2 separate regions of the Homo sapiens genome follow, and region 1 is linked to region 2. The links are contacts of gene promoters, found by promoter capture Hi-C in blood cells and fetal thymus (Javierre and others, 2016). All regions are on one chromosome and are shown on one strand. Each heading gives the region's core, a stretch centred on a gene start or on the middle of the fragment in contact. The rest is flanking DNA. Distances are from core to core; before and after follow the strand shown. Region 1 has its middle 19 kb from the start of TBRG4. Region 2 holds the start of OGDH (oxoglutarate dehydrogenase).

Evidence for each region. Contacts are between HindIII fragments. The CHiCAGO score rates a contact against its expected background, and 5 or more counts as called.
Region 1: a contact is called between a fragment that was not itself captured here and the fragment with the promoter of OGDH in region 2, in 2 of 17 cell types (fetal thymus and activated CD4 T cells). The highest score is 7.2, in fetal thymus.

What each region holds. Positions count from the first base shown.
Region 1 is chr7:45,127,128-45,134,182 of GRCh38, forward strand. No RefSeq gene overlaps it. Among named protein-coding and RNA genes, the nearest start is that of TBRG4, 19 kb to the left of the region's middle. RefSeq lists an enhancer at 6,694-7,055. The HindIII fragment of the contact is 5,554 bases long and covers 2,680-7,055 here.
Region 2 is chr7:44,600,509-44,608,122 of GRCh38, forward strand. It overlaps OGDH (oxoglutarate dehydrogenase), which reads left to right and starts at 6,119. Exons shown (of 23, transcript NM_002541.4): 1 at 6,119-6,145. RefSeq lists enhancers at 5,679-6,278, 6,530-7,093, 6,769-7,108 and a silencer at 6,319-6,548. The HindIII fragment of the contact is 8,395 bases long and covers 1-6,765 here.

The sequences.
Region 1 (7,055 bases), core at 4,207-6,706, 530 kb after region 2:
GAGGGCTTGGACAGGGAAGGGGCCCTGGGGATTGTGGAACCTGGACATCTGCCTTGAAGACCCCGTGGTGACCATGTGCTGGCTGACAGCTGGTGCTTAGTCCCAGGTCCAGGCTGCACTCCTGTCCAGCTGGGGACCCTCATTGCAGGCCTATGGCCTCTGGGCTTTGGACACAGAGTCCCTTAAAACTTCCCCTGGGACCCTCTGCTACTGAACATCGGGATGTTCCAGCCCAGAATGTCCTGCTACTTTGGCGGAGCTGTAATGTGCCTCCTGTACGTGCCCATGGCATGACATGGCTCCATCACGGCCCTTATAGTCCCTCTGCAAAGCAGTGGGCCTCAACCCAGGCCCTTCCTGGGGTAGCCAGCATGGACACTCTGGCCATGGTGACTTGCCACCTCTTGTGCCTCTCCATGGCTTGAAGTTTACCCAATGCTTCACGTAGGCTGTTCCACCTTCCCGGGAAGGGAGCTACACACACACCAGAGACCTGGTGGAGTCCAGGGCTTGGGGAAGTGAAGGTGGCAAGGCCGTGATTGTTTACTGGCAGGCCTTGGTGGCCCTTTTCTCTGTCTCTGTCCGTTCCTACCTACATCATGAGTGGATTTGGCTAGAAGATCTGAGTCCTTCTGTCGCCGATGCTGGGTCTGAGGTGAGAGCTGACCCATCCATCCCAAGAACTCAGATCCCTGGCCACAGACTCACACTGTGAGCGCCCTCCCCCTGCCCCCCACCCCACACCTAGTCCCTTCTTCCTTGACAGCACAGAGGGGCACTTCCTTCACCAGCATTTCCCATCTCCACAGGGTGCCCCCAGAGCTAGCTATGCCATTTTCAGGGCACCTTGTTCAACAAATGGAAAAAAAGTACTGGTAAAGGTACTAGAATAAAAAAGTATTTTTCTCTTCCACAGTCTCTCTGTACTTGTCATGATGCTTTTCACAATGTGTCAATTTAAGTAAATGAAAATAAAAATTTCTTATTATGAACATGAGTATCAGCAGTCATTTTTATGTTGTACAATGCCAATTCAAAGGCAAACACAAGAGCATTGAGCTCTTAGGCAGAATCACCCAATCACACAATTCTTACCTTGTAGCTCACATGGGCACACATATACAACAGTGCAAACGCTGCACAAAACTAACTCAACTGGTTTTGTTCCACTTATTTTTTTCTCATTTCTTTTTATTTAATATTTTTGGATCCATCTGTTGTTCTGAGGAAACAGCTTCCTCTTAAGCAGTTTTACTCTTCTGACACAAGGAACTGGTTGACTGAATGTGTCAGATTAAACTTTCCCTCCATTACATCAAACCTGCTGTAACCAATGTTGTGGCCAGACACTCTTAGCACCCTAGGTCTGCTTTGCCTCTTATGGCCATTCATATCTATATGAACTTGTATATTAATAAGGATAAAAAGTTGCATTCTTTATTTTTATCTTATTTTAATAAGATAAAAATATTTAATTTAATTTAATTTTTTTTTTTTTTTGAGACAGAGTCTTGCTCTGTCACCCAGGCTGGAGTGCTGTGGCACAACTCCGGCTCACTGCAACCTCTGCCTCCTGGGTTTAAGCGATTCTCATGCCTCAGTCTCCTGAGTAGTGGGACTACAGGTGCTTGCCACCAAGCCCGGCTGATTTTTTTGTATTTTTAGTAGAGATGGGGCTTCGCCATGTTGGCCAGGCTGGTCTTGAACTCCTGACCTCAAGTGATCCGCCTACCTCGGCCTCCCAAAGTGCTGGGATTACAGGCATGAGCCACCGCACCCAGCCCTATTTTAATTTTTTATTGAGATGTAATTCACATGCCGTCAGATTCACCCCCAATTGTAAAGTGTACAATTGAGTGTTTTTTAGTACATCCAAAACGTCATACAACCTCCACCTCTAATTCCAGAACATTCCATCACCCTAAAAAGAAACCTAGTACCCACTATCAGTTACTTTCTATTTCCTTCCGTCCCCAGCCTCTGGCAACTGCCAATTGACTTTCTGTCTCTGTGGATTTGCCTATTCTGGACATTTCATGGAGATGAAATCATAGAACGTGTGACCTGCTGTGCCTGACTTATCTCACGGAGCGTGGCTGCTGAGGTTCATCATGTTGTAGCACGTGTCGGTGCTTCACCCTGTTTATGTACCATAGTATTCCTTGGTGTGCATGCACACACTCTGTTGGTCCATTCATCTATTGATGGACATTGGGCTGTCTCCACCTTTTGGCCCCCGTGAGGAGTACCGCTGTGAGCACTGGTGATTTCACCTGTTGACATGTACATGCCCTGCCAAGGCTCTCCTTCTCTGGCTACCGGACAAGCAAGGAAGGCACTTGGCTACTGTCTTCCCCTTTCCTGCTGTGCTGTCCTTTTCAGAGTAACTGGCTGGCTCCTACGGGAATAAGGCAGGCAGGAAAGGGCCGGCAGGGCTCCTGGGCTGCTCGTGTTTCTCAGAGACCCGTCGCATCCTTCTGTGGCTCCAGCCTGTCGGGAAGCCAGGGCCCCACTCCGTCTGTGCCTTTCTGGGACCTGTGCACATGGGATGGCCAGGCCTGCTGCACATGTGGGTCACATGTGTGTTTGTTCCATTGTCCCACCAGACTTCACTTACTAGCACATATGTTGACAGGTGAAATTAAGGATTTCAAGGCATAAGAGCAGAATGTTGAACCAAGCTTAGGGACACATGGTTGTGTGGGCTGCTGGCATGAAGTGGCACACACCTGGAGCCCCTGATTTACCCGCTGTCTTGGCTGCCCCCAGGGGTCCCAAAGACCCTCTGTCCCTGGCCCCTACTCCCCAGCTCTGCTCTAACTCTGACGTCTCAAGTCCCACAGAGGCTAGGCCCTGCCACAGCCTGACCCCCTTCCAGCCGGCTCAGCCCCTCCTGATCCACACCTCTGCCCTCACACCTCTCGGGGCTCCAGGCTCCCGCTTTCCCCTTTTCTCCCCAGCCACCCTCTGCCTGGCCAGTGGACGTCTTCCGATGAGTTCACTCTGTGGAGCCCCAAAGCTGTTGCGTTCAGAGTCTGCCTGGGCCCCGGGGCACGACTCCCATCACACACCCACCAACCCCTCCCTGCTTCCCCCAGGGACTCTTCCACGACCTTCGTCTGCTCTCAGGGCCCTGGAGCCCCACCTCCCACTCCCAGCAGCAAATGGCCTACTTCGACTTCAGAGAGGAGGGCGAGGCTGTCAGCAAGGCTGTGCCCACCCTCTGGAAGACTTAGTCTTCTTCATCCCTAAGTCTTCTTAGACTTAAGAAGACTTAGGGATGATCTTTCTCTTGCCTGTCATCTGGGTTCAGGGGATGACCTTTCTCCTGCCTGGGCCAGGCGGCCAGTTCGAGGCTGCTTCCAACACCACTAGCACCCCCAGTCATGTCAGGCCCAGTTCCATTCCCCTTTCTGCGCTCCTTTATTCCCTTCATTACTACTATTTCTGGAAGAAAAGCCACAGGCATGCAAGGATGACAACACACACGGTGCAGGGCAGGGGGCAGTGGCGTTCCCACTTGGCCCTGACCCCCGTTCTCATTTTTGGAGGCTGATTTCCTACTCTCTTCAGAGATGATCAAGCCTGTTCAAGTATGGATGTGCAGGTCCGTTCTCCTTAGAAATGCGACTTATGTGCACACTGTCTCCCCCTCCTTTTTTTTTTTTTTTTTCCATTTGGGGAACATCCATTTAGCTCAGCCAAACTGAGCTAGTTCTGTGAGCTCAGTTTGGCTGGGTTTTAATGACACACGCCTGCTTCTGAGTGGCGGCTTAGTCCCCTCGGTATGGATGTGTCCACATAATTGCTAGTCTCCTATTGATGGACATTTAGGTTGTTTCTGATTCTTTGCTACCACAGAAGACCCCAGCTTTCGGCATGTGGGCAGGGAGCTCTGCAGGGTACCAGTGTAGAGGCGGAGATGCTGGGCCAAAGGGTCCATGTTTCGCCCACATGGGAGGCCCCGCCCAAGTGTCCTCCAAGCATCTGGCCCGATTCCCAGTCCCTGCTGGCACACCTGGGTATGCAGGGCTGGTCCCCGACACCTCATGAGCAGACACGCTCATCCTGCCCACTGGGTAGATAGGTCGATGGGTGATGGTGGAGGCTTTTATTTTTACTTTTTATTATGATAATTTTAAACATACAGCAAAGTAAAAATAATAGTTCAATAGGTACTCACAGACCGATGGTCTAGATTAACCTTGTCAACATTTTGTCGGACTCATGTTACTATTGTTTGTGTTGTTGTTGGAATTTAAATCTGAAACATCGTGTTGTTTCAACCCCAACTACTTTCTTTTTTTTTTGAGACAGAGTCTCACTGTCACCCGGTTTGGAGTGCAGTGGTGCAATCTCAGATCACTGCAACCTCTGCCTCCTGGGTTCAAGCAATTCTCCCTGCCTCAGACTCCCGAGTAGCTGGGATTACAGGCTCCCACCACCACACCCGGCTAATTTTTGTATTTTTTAGTACAGACGGGGTTTTGCCATGTTGGCCAGGCTGGTCTTGAACTCCTGACCTCAGGTGGTCCACTCGCCTCAGCCTCCCAAAGTGCTGGGATTACAGGCATGAGCCACCACGCCTGGCCAATCCCCTACTACTTTCATATGAAGTTGGAAATCCCAGGGCTGTTTTCCTACAGATAAAATTATTCTACGCGTAAAGTAACTGCTAGTTCCATGAGCTCAGGTTGGCTGGGTCTTTCCTTCTCAGTGGTGTCCAGCCTCTGCAGTCCTCCTTCAAACTGCCCCTGCACCCCAGCTCCCCCAGCCTCCCTCCTGTTTCTTGTCCCTCTATAGTCCTCACTCCTCAGGGAATGTCTATGGCACTGCCACTATCCCCTTTCTCTGCTCTCCCCTCCCCTCATCCTGTGGGAAGCATCCGCCCACGCTCCCTGAGCCCCTGCCCTAGCCCCCACCCCTGCATCCCTGGCAGCAGCTCCCAGGCACAACCAGGGCCCTGCCTGGTCCGGAGCACGCCCATCTGTTCAGCCTTCAGAGGCCTTGGACCCACATCTGCCCACTGTTGCCAATGCAGAACTTGGCCTCCTCCCACATCTCCTTTCCCTGGGAATGGTTCCTCACAGCCAGAGACTTGGAGGGCCTCCCTTTTGTGTTTCTCCATCTAATCAGTTACCAAGAGGTTGGGCCACTGGTGGATGCCCCTCCAAAACCCTCTTGAGTGTGTTCCTGTCAGCTCTTCTGGGCTGCTGCCCTGGGATGGGCTGTTGTGGCATCGGCCACTGCAACAACCGCCTTAACACACTTGTCTGACTACAGACGATCTGATTTGTTCATGAGATGTCCTGTATACTGTCCTCCAGAGCACAGGACCTCTCTCATCTTGTTGAACAGCACATTTGCAGCATCTGGGGCATTAGCCTTTAATGGGAAGGAAGGGAGGGAAAAAAGGAGGAAGGGAGGGAGGAAGGAGGAGAGGGAGGGAGGGAGGGAAGGAGAGAGGGGAGGAGGGAGGGAGGAGGTGGGAGAGGGAGGGAAGGAGGCAGGGATGGAGGGAGGGAAGACTATATCAGGCCTCCCCACTTTCCAGTTAGTTGTCAATGCTCTGTCCAGCATGGCCTTTCACGCCTGGGCATGATCCTATCACAACCCCATCTGAAACTCTTCGGCGGTTTCCCATTACCTGGGGGGAGAAGTCCAAATGCTGGGGTGTGGCATTCATGCCCTTCATGACCTTGAATGAAGTGGCCTAGAGGAAGCGTTTGAGTGCATGCCTGTGTGAATCTAGTCTTGGCTGTGCTAGTTGTGTGACCTTGAGCAGCTTACTCCTTCCTCATTTGTAAAATGGGGTAATAATGAGACCTATTCCAACTACCAGAGGGAGCTGGGGCCCGGGGGGCCAGGAGGGAACACATGTTCTGTGTGGCTGGTGGGGGGCAGTGGGGAGGAGTGAGAGGTGTTGGCAGGACAAGGAGTTCGGGTTAGGTGCACAGCTGCCCTTAGAGCCCTCAGGGCCAAATGGAGAAGCCAGAGGGTTCCAGGAATGCCATTCCTCCAGGCTCACCAGCCCCAGAGGCAAGGAATGTAGGGTTCTTCTTGCGCCCAGGGGAAGGTTGTTGGCCCCTGGCTTGCCTGGCTCCAGCCTATCATCTTCTAAGATGCACAGGCTCTTTCACTCCCCAGCAGCTCCTGTGTGCCCAGGATTGATGGGGAAATGAGGCCCCGGGTTGTGGTCATCTGGAGCACACTGTCCCCACTCCTGGTCCTATGGGGTCAGCTGGGTCAGGATTTTCTCCAAAACTCTGAGTAAAGACAGGGATGGAGGAGGCCATGCTATTCCACAGGTGTGTCCTGGTCTTGTGGTGACTGCCACAGGCCCTGGGTACATGACCTGCCTTCAGCCCTTGCAATCAGGGTCACGGCCTCTGATCACGTGAAGGTCTCATGCTTGTCATCAGGGTCACAACCCTGGTGCAGGTCCTCAGCCCTTGTCATCAGAGTCAGGACTCCTGGGTGAATGTCCTGTCCTTGTCATTGGGGTCATGACCCTTCGGTGAAGGTCTCACTCTCATTATAGGGGTCCCGACCCTGGGTGCAGGTCCTGCCCTCAGCCCTCTGCCCTCATCATGGTCTGTCTGCTCTGACACCCTTCCTACATCTCCTGTCTCACCAAGTCATGTCCCTGCATACAGTTGCTACACCTCCTGCCTCTAGCTCCTGCTTAGAAAGTTCTCTCCTCCCATCTTTCAAAGCTCTACTGCCACCTCCTACTCCAGGGCTGCAAGGCTGTGAGGCTGCAGTGGGCCCTCTGCCCCTTCTCTTGTACCTAGCAGAACCGTGGGCCTCATGGGCCTGTGGTCATTGGCAGGTGGGTTGGATGTCCCACTGGCTCTGTTTCTGCCCTGGACCACAGCAGGTAGAGCAGGGCTGCAGAGGATGCTGGGCGCAGCCCTGGTGGCTAAGGCCTCATGGTGTCATCTCTGTCCAGCTTGTTCACTTGTGGTCCATTTGCTAACACTTGTGTGTGGCCAGGGGCACAGGCACATGAAATGCAGACCCCAGGTGCATACCCACAGAGGCTCCTCCCCAGC
Region 2 (7,614 bases), core at 4,869-7,368:
CACACCTGTAATTCCAGTGCTTTGGGAGGCTAAGGCGGGAGGACTGCTTGAGCCCAGAAGTTTGAGACCAGCCTGGGCAACATAATGAGACTCTTGTCTCAAAATAAACTTAAAATAAAATAATAAAATATAGAATAAAATAAAATAGCCAGGTGTGGTGGCATGCATCTGTATTACTAGCTACTTGGGAGGCTGAGGTAGGAGGATCACCTGAGCCCAGTTCAAGGCTGCAGTGAGTTATGATCATGCCACTGTACTCCAGCCTGGGTGACAGGGAGAGACCCTGTCTTAGAAAAAAAAAAAATGAAGTTAGATCCCTACTGCACAGTCACTTATAAAAATTAACTCAAAATGGGTAAACAATCTAAATATGAGCTAAAATCATTACCTCATAGAAGAAACATAAGGGTAAATCTTCATAACCTTAGATTTGGCAATGGATTCTTAGATATGACATAAGCAACATCAAAATTAAAAACTTTCAACCTTTTGTGAGTGGTGGCTAGCACTAAGAGAAGCCAGGAAGGCCTGGGGCACACATCAAGAACACAAGGTGGTGGGGGTGTTGCCTGACCACCCCCAAAAGCTGCACACCAACCCTCTACCCCATGCGAATCTTTGAGCCTCTGGCACTTTGTATCTCAGCTGAAGAAGCCTTCAGTGGAAACTGTCTCCAGTGGGCAGGTGTTGGAGAACCCGCCCTCTTCAGGTGAAGAGTTTGGGCATCTGGCTGCACTATCCTCCAAGTGGCACCCAAAACCTGCACTGGGAACATGGGCCCTGACCTGGTGGACATCACCACCTGGTGACAGAGTGCCAGGCGCATTCCATCCAGATGAGGAAGATGAAGGAGACTGCGTCAGAAAGTGCTGCCAGTCAGCAATCAATTCCACCACTTCACTATCAAGTTCTTTCTGCCCCACCAGTCCTGCCATGCCAGCATGAGCCACACTTTGTTAACAAGAAACCCAATACCTTCTCTAGGTACAGAGTCCTCTCCACCCCCAAGACAGCCCAGATAAACTCCTTAGGAACAACAACAACAAAATTAAAAACTTTTGTTCATCAAAGGACATTGTCAAGAGATAAAGAGAGGCCTGGCACATTTGAGAGGCTGAGGTGGGAGGATCTCTTGAGGCCAGGAGTGCAAGACCAGCCAGGGCAACAAAGCAAGACCCTGTCTCTACAAAAAATAACAATATTGGCCAGGTGCGGTGGCTCACGCCTGTAATCCCAACACTTTGGGAGGCCGAGGAGGGCGGATCACGAGGTGAAGAGATCGAGACCATCCTGGCCAACATGGTGAAACACCGTCTCTACTAAAAATACAAAAATTAGCTGGGTGTGGTGGCACATGCCTGTAGTCCCAGCTACTCAGGAGGCTGAGGCAGGAGAATCGCTTTAACCCAGGAGGCAGAGGTTGCAGTGAGCCAAGATCGCACCACTGCACTCCAGCCTGGTGACAGAACGAGACTCTGTCTCAAAAAAACATAAATATATAAAATAACAATATTAGCTGGGCGTGGTGGTGTGCACCTGTGGTATGGTTCCAGCTACTCAGGAGGCTGAGGCAAGAGGATCACTTGAGCCTAGGAGATCAAGCCTGCGGTGAGCCATGATCACACACCACTGCACTCCAGCCTAGGGAACAGAGTAAGACCCTGTCTCAAAACAAGCAAACAAACAAAAAAAAAGAAATGAAAACCTACAAAATGGGAGAAAATATCTGCAAATCATATATCTGATTAGATTTAATATCCAGAATATATAAAGAACTCCTATAACAACAAGAAAACCCAATTTAAAAATGGGCAAATGACTCAAATGGACAGCTCTCTGAAGAAAATATACAAATGGACAAGCACCACATGAAAATATGCTCAACATCATTAGCCACTAGGGAAATGCAAATCAAAACCACAATGAGCCGTGGTGGCCCACACTTGCAGTCCCAGCCCAGGAGTTCAAGGCTGCAGTGATCTCTGATTGTGCTCATGCACTCCAGACTAGGTGGCAGAGTGAGACTCTACCTCTAAAAAATAATAATACTTTCTAAACCACAATGAGATACCACCTCATACCTATTTATTATAGTTGGCTGTAATAAATTTTTTTTAGAGATGGGGTCTTGCTATGTTGCCCAGCTGATCTTGAACTCCTAGCCTCAAGCAATCCTCCTGACTCAGCCTCCCAAAGTGGTGGGATTACAGGCATAAGCCACTACACCTCACCAAATTTTTTTGGTTGGGGAGTGGGGAGGTGGGGGAACAGGGTCTTGCTCTGTGCCCAGGCTAGAGTTCTGTGGCATGATCATAGCTCACTGCAACCTCAAGCTCCTGGGCTCAAGCAATCCTACTGTCCCAGCGTTCCAAATAGGTAGGACTACAGGCATGTGTCACCACTCCTAATTTTTTTTTTTTGGAGAGACAAAGTCTCACTATGTTGCTCAGGCTGATAATCCTCCTACTTTGGCCTCTGAAAGTGCTGGGATTACAGGAGTGAGGCATCATGACTGACCGATAGTAATTTTTTTAAAAATAGAGACAGTAAAAAAAAAAAATAGAGACAGACCTGTAATCTCAACACTATGGGAGGCTGAGGCAGCAGGATCGCTTGAGGCCAGGACTTCGAGACCAGCCTGGGCAACACAGCAAGATCCTGTCTCTACAAAAAACAGAAAAAATTAGCCTAGCCTGGTTGTGCATGCCCATTGTCCCAGCTACTCAGGAGCGTGAGCTGAGAGGATCACTTGAGCCCCGGAGGTTGAGGCTGCAGTGAGCTGTGATCACACTACTGCACTCCAACCTGACACCTTGTCTCAAAAACAAACAAACAAAAAAGGTGCGGTCACTGTGGGAATTTATCACTTCCTGAAAAAGCTAGACAGAATTCCCATATAACTCAGAAATTACACTCCCAGGTATACAGGCAAAAGAATTATAAACAGGTGTAACCACAGGACCAGTTGAATCTGATTCAGTTTTTTTTTTTTTTTTTTTTTTTGAGATGGAGTTTTGTTCTTCTTGCCCAGGTTGGAGTGCAAAGGAGCGGTTTTGGCTCACTGCAACCTCCGGCTCCCGAGTTCAAACGATTCTCCTGCCTCAGCCTCCCAAGTAGCTGGGATTACAGGCACCCACCACCAGCCTGGCTAATTTTTTTGTATTTTTAGTAGAGATGGGGGTTTCGCCCTGCTGGCCAGGCTGGTCTTGAACTCCTGACCTCGGGTGATCCACCCACCTCAGTCTCCCACAGTGCTGGGATTACAGGTGTGAGCCATTGTGCCCAGCCTGGTTCAACTTTTATCAGTAACAAAATGATGAGTTGTTTTTCAGTTACAATAGATCCCCAGGCTGCAAGTCACGTAACCTAAGTATGCCCAGATGAACAAAGTGTGCCTGATAGCTGACCCTGGTGTCGGTGGGAACACAAAAGTCAACCACAGGCAGGACTTAACCACTCAAATGGAGGAATGGACACCAAATTAGGAAGCATGGGGCGCCTTGTTTTGCTGCAATATGAACTTAAAAGCCAAAGATCCAGCATTGCCCCTTTGCATGACCCAAACAGATCACACCTTGTTGTATTTTCCCATCTCCCTCATAGTTGCCTTCTGCCTATAAAACCTGCCCCCAGATTCCATCTTGGGGAGACAAATTTGAGTATTGCCTCTGGTTTCCCTGCTGGTCGACCTTACGATAAAGCCTTTTCTCAAAAGGTGATGACATAGTATTGGCTTCTATGTGCATCTAGCAGTGAGCCCACTGCTTGGTACCACAATGGGCTCAAACATTTATAAGCCAATGTTCATTGCAACATTATTCAAAACAGCAAAAAAGCAGAAATAACCAAGTGTCCATCAATAGATGAATAAATAAACAAAATGTGGTATATACATACAATGGAATATTATTCAGCCATAAAAAGAAATGAAGTTCTGGCCAGGCATGGGGGCTCATGCCTGTAATCCCAGCACTTTGGGAGGTCGAGGTGGGTGGATCACTTGAGGTCAAGAGTTCAAGACCAGCCTGGCCAACATGGTGAAACCCCATCGCTACTAAAAATACAAAATAAGCTGGGCGTAGTGGCGGGCGCTTATAATCCCAGCTACTTGAGAGGCTGAGGCAGGAGAATTGCTTGAATCTACAAGGCAGAGGTTGCAGTGAGCCGAGATGACACCACTGCACTCCAGCCTGGGCAACAAGAACGAAACACCATCTCAAAAATAAAAAAAGAAAGAAAGAAAAAGAAAAAAATATTAGCCAGGCATGGTGGAGCGTGCCAGTAGTCCCAGCTACTTGGGAGGCTGAGGCATCAGAATCACTTGAACCTGGGTGGCAGAGATTGCAGTGAGCTGAGATGGCACCACTGCCCTCCAGCCTGAAACCGAGGGAGATCCTGTCTCAAAAAAAAAAAAAAGAAATGAAGTTCTGACCCATGCTACAACACAGATAAACCTTGACAACCTCATGCTCAATGAAATAAGGTGGACACAAAAGGACATATACATTATGATTTCACCCACATAAAGTAATTGAGTAATCAAATGTATAGAGACCGTATAATAGAGGTTACCAAAGGAGAGAAGGACAGGAGGAGAAGGGGAAATAGGAAGTTATTGCTTAATGGTTACAGAGTTGCTGTTTCAGGTGATGAAAAAGTTTTGGAAATTGAGTGGTGACGGTTGCATAATATTGTGAATGTAATTAATGCCACTGAGTTATACACCTAAAAATGGTTAAAATGGCATTAAAAAAAAAAAGACAGTATCTTGCTCTCTGGCCCAGGCTGGAGTGCAGTGGTACAATCATAGCTCACTGCAGCCTCAATCTCTCAGGCTCAAGAGATCCTCCTGCCTCAGCCTCCCAATTAGCTGAGACTACAGGTGAGTGCCACTACACCTGGCTAATTTTCTTGATTTTTTAGTAGAAATGAGATCTTGCTCTGTTCCCCAGGCTGATCTGGAACTCCTGAGCTCAAGCGATCCTCCCGCCTCCACCTCCCGAAGTGCTGGGATTACAAGCGTGAGCCACTGCACCCAGCTGCAAATGTTTAGTACATACATTTTTACCGTAATTTATTTAAAAAAAAAAAAGGAAAAAAGAATACAGAAGTTTGTTCCTTGGTCTCTTCACCTCTTCCAGTCTCTAGATCCTTGTCACATACATTACCCTAACTTTGTTCTATAATAAGCACTTATACGCCCCCTTTTTTTGTTTGTTTTTTGAGACGGATTTTCGCTCTTGTTGCCCAGGCTGGAGTGCAATGGCACGATCTCGGCACACCGCAACCTCCGTCTCCCGGGTTCTAGCGACTCTCCTGCCTCAGCCTCCCGAGTAGCTGGGATCGCCACCACGCCCAGCTAATTTTTGTATTTTTAGTAGAGACGGGGTTTCCCCATGTTGGTCAAGCTGGTCTCGAACTCCTGACCTCAAGTGATCCGCCCGCTTCGGCCTCCCAAAGTACTGGGATTACAGGCGTGAGCCACCGCGCCCGGCCTTTCCCCAAATTTTAATACTTTAAAATAGGGAACATCTTACAATCAACAGGTTGTGACAGGTTAATTAGCCACGTTTTATCTTTGATAGGTAGCTCTAAAGTCAAGAAAACCCAGGCAAGATCCCGGGCAAGATCCCAGCACTGCCAACTGTCATTTGTAGACCGGGGATAGGAACACCTGTCTCACAGATTGTTACACAATAGCGCCGGTGAAGCGCTTGTCACAAAGCCTGACCCAGGACAATCTCAAAAACGGAGATTCTGTTATTCAAATTGTTTATTTTTGTGCGCTAAGTTTCACATCAACCCAACTATCTCTTGATAGGTTCCTACCAGGCGCTAGAGATATCTTACTTTCAGAAATTATTTATGATAGCAGAAGCCGCTGGAAGTCCATAGACAACCTCATCTCTCTAGCGGAGCAAACAGCTGGGCTCCAGCTGGCCCTGGCTTCTGCAACTGCGCAGTCGGCGCTGTGACGCCCGGCGCGGCTCTGTGACGTCACGAATCGGTCCTCTGTAAGAGGGGAGGGCATTCTTCTCCAGGGGAGGGCTACGTGTTGACGCCATACGCCGGGGCGGGGCCGAGAGTTTGGAGCCCCGGAGTGGGGTGTCGGCGCCTCATTCGGGTGGAGCTGAGCCGGAGACAGGTAACCGTGCGCTGTCGCCGCGCCCGTCCCAGTGCCGGGTGTCGCGGCGCTTGGCGGCCCGGGGTTGGAGATCGCGGTAAAGGGGGAGGCCGCCGCGCCCTTGGTGCTGCGGGCGCCGCGGTGACAGGGGAGTGGAGCTGGATGGAGTGGGGCTCACGGAGGGTGGTAGGAGGGACGGGACCTGATGGATGGCCGTGGCAGCCAATGGAGCCGCGGGGCCTGCCCGGCGGGCGGAGATTGGCGGGTACGGGCGGGCTCCGAGGTCGCGCGGGGCGCGGAGCGACGCGCCATTGGCGGTGGGCGAGCGGGGGGCGGGCGCGGCGGCGGATGTGAGGGAGAGGGCGGTGCGTCCGCAGGGGTGACCCCCAAGGTCGCCGCGGGCGTCACGTGGTTAGGCCGCTCTCCGACGGCGTCCTTCCCGACCGGGACGCACTCTCCTTCCCGCCTGTGAGGACCGCGTCGCTTTGTCCGAAAGACAGTGTGGCCTGCTCGAGTTGCGTCGGAGCATCTGGCTTTGGGGTGGCCCTGGGTGGGACTGCCTGTTTGGATTACCGCGCAGACCTTGGCGCCGCCCCCACACCTGCTGCCAGAAGTTGGGTCGAACAGATTGACCGAGATGAAGCTTATTTCTCGTAGAAACATCTTTCAAGCACCATTTTCCCTCGAAAATATATCAGACATTGGATATGAGTTGTAATCTACTGAGATTTAATAGAAAACTTGCCGCGCCCTCGCCCTGACCTGGGTGCGTCCCACCTGCCATCCCCATCCCTTTGCCCAGAACATAGGACTTCGTGTTAGGGTTTCCTTGTGCCTTGTCTTGCAGTCCGTACTTTGAGGCTGATTTCCAGGTACACTGCTCTGAACAGCTGGGTTTAGGATGGGTGGCATGGGATAAAGCCTTTTTTTGTAAGGCAGCACTAGTTGCAACAGTCAAACTGTACTTTGCCGTGTAGACCTAGGAGAGTATGTAACACTATTGTAGTTTTGTAAATTAGCTGAGGACTGGATCTTGGGAAGTTGAATAAAGATCACTGTATGCTCATTTTTTGTTGTTGTTGTCTTGTTTGAGATGGAGTCTCTGTCGCCCAGGCTGGAGTGCTGTGGCGCGATCTCGGCTCACTGCAACCTCTGCCTTCCTGGGTTCAAGTGATTCTCCTGCCTCAGCCTCCCAAGTAGCTGATATTACAGGCACGCGCCATCACGCCCGGCTAATTTTTGTATTTTTAGTAGAGACGGGTTTTCACCACCTTGGCCAGGCTATTCTCGAACTCCTGACCTCAGGTGATCCGCCCGCCTCGGCCCCCAAAGTGCTGGGATTACAGGCGTGAGCCACTGCGCCCGGCCCCTCATTATTTTTTTTAAGCGCACTTTTCACATTTCAGTTACTTTTTCCCTTTAAATAACATCTTTATTGAGATAAAATTCACATACCATACGATTCACCCATTTGACGTGCACAATTTCGG